3 separate regions of the Homo sapiens genome follow, and regions 2 and 3 are each linked to region 1. The links are contacts of gene promoters, found by promoter capture Hi-C in blood cells and fetal thymus (Javierre and others, 2016). All regions are on one chromosome and are shown on one strand. Each heading gives the region's core, a stretch centred on a gene start or on the middle of the fragment in contact. The rest is flanking DNA. Distances are from core to core; before and after follow the strand shown.

Evidence for each region. Contacts are between HindIII fragments. The CHiCAGO score rates a contact against its expected background, and 5 or more counts as called.
Region 2: a fragment that was not itself captured here is called in contact with the fragment with the promoter of CPA4 in region 1 in 2 of 17 cell types (megakaryocytes and M0 macrophages); the score reaches 6.3 in megakaryocytes.
Region 3: a fragment that was not itself captured here is called in contact with the fragment with the promoter of CPA4 in region 1 in 1 of 17 cell types (endothelial precursors); the score reaches 5.1 in endothelial precursors.

The regions. Positions count from the first base shown.
Region 1 is chr7:130,291,741-130,294,410 of GRCh38, forward strand. CPA4 (carboxypeptidase A4) reads left to right here and starts at 1,421. Exons shown (of 11, transcript NM_016352.4): 1 at 1,421-1,508. The coding sequence starts at 1,441. RefSeq lists an enhancer at 1,826-1,915. The HindIII fragment of the contact is 9,413 bases long and covers 1-1,931 here.
Region 2 is chr7:130,508,982-130,511,651 of GRCh38, forward strand. The region is part of intron 20 of COPG2 (coat protein complex I subunit gamma 2); the gene reads right to left. Among named protein-coding and RNA genes, the nearest start is that of MIR335, 14 kb to the left of the region's middle. The HindIII fragment of the contact is 1,333 bases long and covers 679-2,011 here.
Region 3 is chr7:130,472,199-130,474,868 of GRCh38, forward strand. No RefSeq gene overlaps it. Among named protein-coding and RNA genes, the nearest start is that of MESTIT1, 17 kb to the right of the region's middle. The HindIII fragment of the contact is 1,317 bases long and covers 653-1,969 here.

The DNA.
Region 1 (2,670 bases), core at 171-2,670:
CCCTCCCACCTTGATATCTGATCAAGTTCCTCATCCCCACCTTTGATGGGGACTTTGATGTATAAGTCCTTGGCCTGCTTTTAGCAAGAATCCCCCTACCTTGATGTCTTCTCTTAGTAATCCCACTGATCCTCTCTGTTTTCTTTGCCGTATTCAGTGTTAAGCACAGTAAGTCTTTCCTACTGAAATAGCCATGGTCCTAATCATAATAATCTTGAATTAGGTCTTACATTTTAACACAGGTCAGGATAGTTTTTCTTTAACTCTCTCAACTATGACCCTTGGTTGTGTCCACTCCCTTTGAGTGGGTGTGGAAAGCATGTAGACCGTAGGGAGGGTGGGATGGGAAAGGCTGTGGGAACTGGGGCTCCCAGGACAGACTCAAAGGTCCCAGAGCCCCTGAAGGCGTTATGGAGATATGAGTGTCTTCCATTTATTCAGCTGTGACTTGGCGGAAAGGACACCAGACCCACAGTCTAGGAAGTATAAGAAAATCTTATTATTTATTTATTTATTTATTTGAGATGGAGTCTCACTCTGTCGCCCAGGCTGGAGTGCAGTGGTGCGATCTCGGCTCACTGCAAGCTCCGCCTCCCAGGTTCACGCCATTCTCCTGAGTAGCTGGGACTACAGGCGTCCGCCACCACGCCCGGCTAATTTTTTGTATTTTTAGTAGAGACGAGGTTTCACTGTGATAGCCAGGATGGTCTCAATCTCCTGACCTCGTGATCCGCCCACCTCGGCCTCCCAAAGTGCTAGGATTACAGGCATGAGCCACCTCGCCCGGCTGAAAATCTTATTATTGATAAAACCATTAAGCCTTCCCCATAGATCAGACCCCAAGGAACACTGATAATTTATTCAGACTAAAACATCCTTTCTATATCATTTGCCTGATACATTTCTATTTCCTTAGTGGAGTCAGAAGAATTAGGCTTCAGATACATAAAAGAGGCCCCAAACCTCTTTCCTCATCCTGACCTGCCCTGGTGAAATTCTCTGGCAGGGCTTGTCAAGCATGTGGTCTTGGAGCCAGCTCAGTCTTGCTTTGATAGTCTTAACTTTTTTATTATTATTCTAGAGGTAATTCTATGCCAGGTTTATAATCTGACCTCTCCTATCAGGATAAATTCCATCCAACACTGTGGAATTAGCTTATTCACTGAAAAAACACTATTTAAATGCCAAGTGATGAGCAATATGGTACCCTTGGCACAGACTTTTTCAGCTCCTGGAGCAAGTTCCTGACCTTGTAAATTGAGATGCTCAACCTTTATCACTTGAAAGGAATGGGAGAGGCATTGGTAGGGCCTGCCTGTCACAGTCAGAGTTGCAAGGGTGCTTGGGAATCACATTAGCATTTTTGAGGACTTGAGTCACTCTCAGACTCTTTATAAATACAGCTTGACTCAGCCACTGTATGACTGACTCCCCGGGGACATGAGGTGGATACTGTTCATTGGGGCCCTTATTGGGTCCAGCATCTGTGGCCAAGAAAAATTTTTTGGGTAAGTTCCTTTTGGACTTATTATTTGGTTATTTCAGAAATATGGGAGCCAAATGGAACTGAAAATGAATGGCTGATAATAGCTCACATGGAGGAAGAAGACCTGGGCTCTTGTTCCAGCTTTGCCCCTGTGTCATCCTGGACAAGTCCACTCTCTTCTCTGAGACCCCATTTCATCTGTGAAATCAGGACTAGATGATCATTGCAGTCTCTCCCCAGCTCCCTCATCTCCTGCCAGTTCTTTTTCTGCCTAGTTCTTACTTATAAGGTCAGTTCCAGGCATCTACTTTCTTACTCCTACCTTATTAATTACTAAGAGTTACTGGTTACTAAGAGCTACGTTATTAATTACTAAGAGTTACTGGTTACCAGAAATGGTTTGTTTCCAATTTCCGCCATGCATAAAGGGAAACCCTGGGTCTCAAGCTTGTTGGTTTCACTTCTTTGTTAATGGCGAAGGCTTTGCAGAGCTGGTGCCTTCTCTTGATCTGCAGTTTAATGCTCTACCCCTGAGCTACACCCTCTTCTGAGCTGGTGCTTTCTTACTGGCTTCTGGGACGTGGAGATTTCACAGGTCTTGCCTAGACACAGCTATGAAAATGACATGCAGAGACACATGCCTGAACACCGTGTGTGTGTGCGCGTGTGTGTGTGCACACACACACGTGCTCAACACGCTCCATGCAGAATACTTTGAGGTTTGCAGGGGAGAGGACATTTGGGTGGTAGGAGAGATAAAAGGGATACCATGGTGCCCTGTTAGAAGACTGAATTATAATAACTCATTACTGCATAATACTTTACCATTTGCAAAGAGCTTTCATGTACATTATCTTTTTGATCACACAACAACTTTGCCAGGCAGGGGTGTTATTTTCTTCCACTTAAACATGAAAAAAATCAGCCTTAGAATGTTAAGGAACGCGCTCAAGGCCACTTAGCTGGGAAGCAGGGGAGCTGGAACTCTGAACGTAAAACTCGTACCCTTTTGCTATAACACAAGTTCATCTCCAAATAAAATCCTATATCTCTTGGATCTGTCTCTTAGTTTTCTTTCTATTTTACTATCTGGCTAATGAGACTTTGGGGTTGTTTTTTGAGGTAATTACTTATATGAGATTGACTAAGTTTTATGATGATGACTTCTGTTCACACCTGTGTCT
Region 2 (2,670 bases), core at 95-2,594, 220 kb after region 1:
ATGTTGAAAAATAAATATTTTGAGAACCACTGCTGTAGGACCTGACCAAAAAAAAAAACAAAAAAAAAACCTGTGGTAAAAAGCATACAGATCATCAGATTAACATTGACCAATCTCATCAGCATCTCAATACTATCTTTAGATTGTGGACTGATGGCGGGTCCACAGATCACCAGAGAGAACTTGCTTTATCTGTCAACCTTCAGCCTAAAGTGAGTAGGTCAGTAATGAGTTTCTAGTATTGGTAAAGTCAGTGTCTTAAATGGAAAAGCAAGTGGGCAGTTGTATGTTTTCACACAAGTGGTGTTAAGTAATAAGAAATGGAGGTGGGGGTACATTTTTGGAAAGTGAAGTCTTTATAAAAAGTAAAGACAGTATTTTCTGAAATGTTTGAAGGAGGGGATTTAGCAAGCAGGGATGAAGAAAAGGCATTTAGGATCTTGTCTATGGTCTGGAAAAAGCTTATAGGTACAAAAAATATTAGATATTGGGAGAGTTAAAAAGTTATTTGGGGGATAGGCAAGGAGAGGAAAGAACAGGCTCAGATGTGAAGACCATATACGACAGATTGGGTAATAAGACTTTCATCTGCTCAGTCTTGACTTTAAATTCCATCCATTCATCCATCCACACATGTAGTGACTGTCAATACATGTTGACATTACACGTAAAGGTATAAGCTTATGTGCCAGACACTTGGATAAAAAGATGACTGAGACATGATCTCTGTCTCTAGGAGCTGTCTAGGAGTTAAATAAGTGTGTGGGCTGTGTGTGTGTGTGATCTATCTATGACTTTACAACTCAATGCCATAGATCCTTTAAGTTTTAAGAGAGTGCCATGTGAGGGTGCGGGATTAACAAATAGCCTGGGAAAACTGTAAAAAATGTGAAACGATATAATAGTTTAACTGGCTCTCAAAAGATGCAAAAGAGCTTTGGCAAGCAGAGGAAGATGTACAAACAGGCAAAAGGAAAGAGGCCAGAAAGTCCACCGGGCAGCTGGAAACAGTAAGAGGCATGCTAATGCCTAGGTGCTGAGAAGATAATTTGTTTAGGAATAAATTGTAAAATACCTTGTATTTCAAATGATTTTCCAACAGGCTCTGGTGAGCTGAGGCAGTCAAGAGATTGAAAGGTTAGAGATAAGCTAGATAAGGTGCCTAATTTAAGCCACTGGTGGGGACTATGAAGAATGGGTCTGAATTCAGAGAGCAGATGGATTCAACAGAATATGCTGAAAACAGACGATGGCAGTGGGTTTTCCCATATAGGAAAGAATGAACCTATCAAGCCTGCAGAATCAATTTCAATGCCATTAGGGGTTGAGAAAAGAACGACTGTGGTTTAATTAGGATAGGATTTTCTTCAGAGAGAAGGGGAAAGAAGTGAAAGTTAACACAAGGCCAGAACAGGTCAGGTGAGGCATTTTTTTTAAACCATGAAAGAGATACAGAATATGGTAGGGGAAAAGGTCATGATCAAGTTAGAATGAAGAGTCAGGAGAGACATTAATTATAGCAACCCAGTGTGGTTCCAATTAAGCAGAGAGGCTACAGCAAATGAGGAGGACAAAGAGACAACATCAGGTATGAAGGCAGATCACAGACTGGGCACAGGGGCTGAGTTTTATGTGGAGGTAAAGACAGAAGACACTTACATATAAGGACCTGATACAGAGAAAGAGATTAAGGAAGTAAATAGGAATGGTGTTAGTAGAGATAATGTTCCTGAAACCTTAGTGGGAATTTTTTTACTTAAATGGTTTGATTGATACAATGAGAGGTTACAGGGATCTAAGGAAGTCTAGGCAGTAATCTGTCGAAGCTGCTGGAGAGGATGACGAAATGGGGCGAGGAGGCAAGATGCGGGGGCCTTTCCATGGCAAGAAAATACTGAATGCACTGCCATAATGTAAATATGAGAGTTACACAGACAAAGCAAGGCAAATACCAAAGAGAATCAGGAAAGAATGCCCTGAAGATCTGCATTAAAACTGTTCTCTGAAATTAAGCTTGTCTTGTGAGGATTCACTGAAAATGAGAGTCAACCACTAAGGAGATTTGTATGAAAAGAACCCAGCGAATTAGAGAAAAGATAGATGCTGGCAGCTAAGACAGGAGAGGGACATGTGAGTTGGGCCAGGGTACAGAAAATGCAGTGTGGCAAAGGGCAGAGTGGGAAAGGTGGGAGGGAGCTGCCAGGTCTCAACCACCTGGGGGAGACCATGACAAAGTAAGAGACACTTATGAGGTATTTCCAGAAAGCTTTGTTAGAATAATAATTAAAGAAAAGGGTATGTCACTAGGGCAAAAGATTAGAAAGAAGGCAAAAGAGATGGATCTGTACAGGCTAACTGCAGCAGTCTATGCAGGTCTGGACTGAACTGAGAAGCAATGGGTGCAGCATAGTGTGTAGGACATCGAGGAAAGCTGGGCAGTGAGTGCCAAAATAAGCAATACACACCTACCTGGAAAATCGTGTTGAGTCTGTGGGAATGCTGTACAAATGGTGGGAGGGAGTTTTTCTCTAGGACAAATTCAGAAAGGGAAGGAGGAATGGTACTGGAAAGCAACATTAGAGTTGTCCTCAGATGAAAAGGAGTTGGTCACTAAGGAATGACACACATCAACAGGAAGGTAAGACAGCATTGCTGGGCCAAAAGTCATAA
Region 3 (2,670 bases), core at 61-2,560, 180 kb after region 1:
ACAATAATATGTAGTTTTTATCCCTCCCTTCCTCCCTCCCTCCCTCCCTCCCTCCCTTCCTTCCTTCCTTCCTTCCTTCCTTCCTTCCTTCCTTCCTTCCTTCCTTCCTTCCCTTTTTCTTAGAGATAGGGTCTCACTTTGTCACCCAGGCTGGAATGCATGCTGTGATCATAGCTCACTGCAGCCTCAAACTCCTGGGCTCAAACAATCCTCCCACCTCAGCTTTCCAAACAGTTAGGACTACAGGTACATGCCATCATACCTGGCTAATTAAAATTTTTTTTTTTTTTTTTTTTGTAAAAAGAGGGGTCTCACTATGTTGCTCAGGCTAGTCTCAAACTCCTGGTCTCAAGCCATTCTCTTGCATCGGCCTCCCAAAGCACTAGGATTACAGGCATGGGCCACTGCGCCTGGCCTATTATGTAGTATTAAATGCTAAGAGGAGGATATTGAATGTTCCCAACATTAAGAAATGATAAATGTTTGAGATGATGCATATGCTAATTACCCTGATTGGCTCACTATACATTATATGCATTGAAACATCACTACATACCCCATGAATATGTAAAGTTATTAAATGTCAATTAAAACTAAAAATAAATAAAAAGTATATCATCAGTATTTACCTAAGAGAAATATGTCCACACAAAGCTTTGTACACAAATGTTCATAATAGCTTTATTTATAGCAATCCAAAATGGAAGCAACCCAAATGTCTTCCTGTAAGTCACTAGGTAAATGAATAAATAAGTAGTTGATGGCTACATAGTTGATTCCATATAAGGAATACTACTCAGCAGTAACAAATAATACACTATCTATACACCCAGCAACATGATGGATCTCAAAATCATGTTGAGTCAAAGAGGCCAATCAAAACAGAATACATACTGCATGGTTCCATTTATATAAAATTCTAGAAAAGGAAAACTAACCTATAGTGATAGAAATTAGATCAGTGATTACCTGGGGATGGGGGAAGCAAATAACAGATTGTGAAAAAGGAAGACAGATGGATTACAGAGGACCATGAAGAAATTTGCGGAGTGGGTAATGGCTTTGTTTATTATCTTGATTATTGTGATGATTTCAGGGGTATACACATATGTCAAAATTCATGAAATTACACACTTTAAATATATGTGGTTTATTGTACAACAGTTATAGCTCAATAAAGCTGTTAAAAACTCACCAGAAATGAAAAATGTAGAGAGGGCTGAGGACAGCTTTAAGTGGATGTTGGTCTCTGGCAGTCATTTATCTCTGCCTCCCCTACTTGCCTTGTTCTCATTTTTGGATTTCCTGTGCCTCTATTCTTCCTCATTTTGGCTGTGCATGTTCACTTTTATTTCCTATTGCTGTGTCAACAGTTTGTGGGGTTAGAACTTGGAAAGGGTACTGGGTCTCTTTACTCTTTTCTTAAGCCCCTATTTTGTCCCTAGTTTGCCTTTGGTCATTTCCAAAGCTAAGAACATTTCCAGAGCAACAATTTTGGTTCCCTCTCTGTATCTTGTATATAGTCCCTGATCTAATAGGCTGAGGTCCTTCCACTGTCTCTGTATAACAGTTTTAACAATTTAATGGTGACAAGAATTGGCAGTTTGTTTGTTTGCTTGTTTTTAATGCCCTTGAATTTTTAGCTGTAAAACTCCATCCCTGGACTGCGGAAACATGAAGATAGTCTCACCTCTGATCATGGTCCAGGCGCCTATATTCATGGCTTTGGGCCCCACCTCTTAGCCTTCATATACAACTTTGTTTCTTTTTCCAGGAGTCATTTTAACCAATTCCACAGCTTTCAGCTGCTTCATCTTGAGAGCGGAGAGTGCTGTACTCATAGCAGGCAGCTCTCCCAGAGCAATTTACGGCTTCACAGTTCTGCAAATTACAGTCATTTGCAATCTTCTCCATTAGTGCCCTGACCCCATCCAGCTATGTCTGCATGTTTTTGGTTCCTGATGTCTGAAGCTTCTTGTTGCTTTACTATCTGATCTCTCCAAGCTGAAAATGTTCCTTTTCCATTTTCTGGGGGCCTTCTGATATGTAGACATGCTCGCTATTAAGATCATAAGGTCACATTTGCTTGTTTTTTTGTTCTTGAGTTTGCTAATTCTTCCATTTACAAACTTGTAGTTTTCCAGAACTAGTTTTCCTATAGGGAAGAGATTATCAGTGAATTCTGATTCTTCCCAGAGCCTTATTACTTAAACCAGTCCTGTCTACCTCTCTTCTATGGGCTGGGTAATCTTGCTTAAAATCTCTTCCACCATCAGTCCAACGCCTCTGTGAAACCCAGGCTTGGTTTCTTATGTCTCCCCTTGAGTGAGTCTTGCCATTTGTCTACCTGTCTAGGCTGACCTAGTGGTTTCAAGGGAGCCCTGCTCCCCAGCAAGCTTCTACTCAGCGGCCATGAGAAGCAAGTCAGGGATGCTTTTTTGGGGTGGTTCTCAAACTTTAGCGTGCATCGGGATCACTTTGAGGGCTTGTTGAGACACAAATTGCTCCATCCCCAGAGTTGCTGATTGGGAAGATGGAGCATTTGCAAATTACCAAATCCTCAGGTGATGCCGATGCTGCAGGTCAGAGGCCAGCACTGCTGACTGGGAACCCTGTGTTGGTCCATAGTCAGCAATTGTCCAGGGTCTGTCTCCCTGTGTTATCCAATGA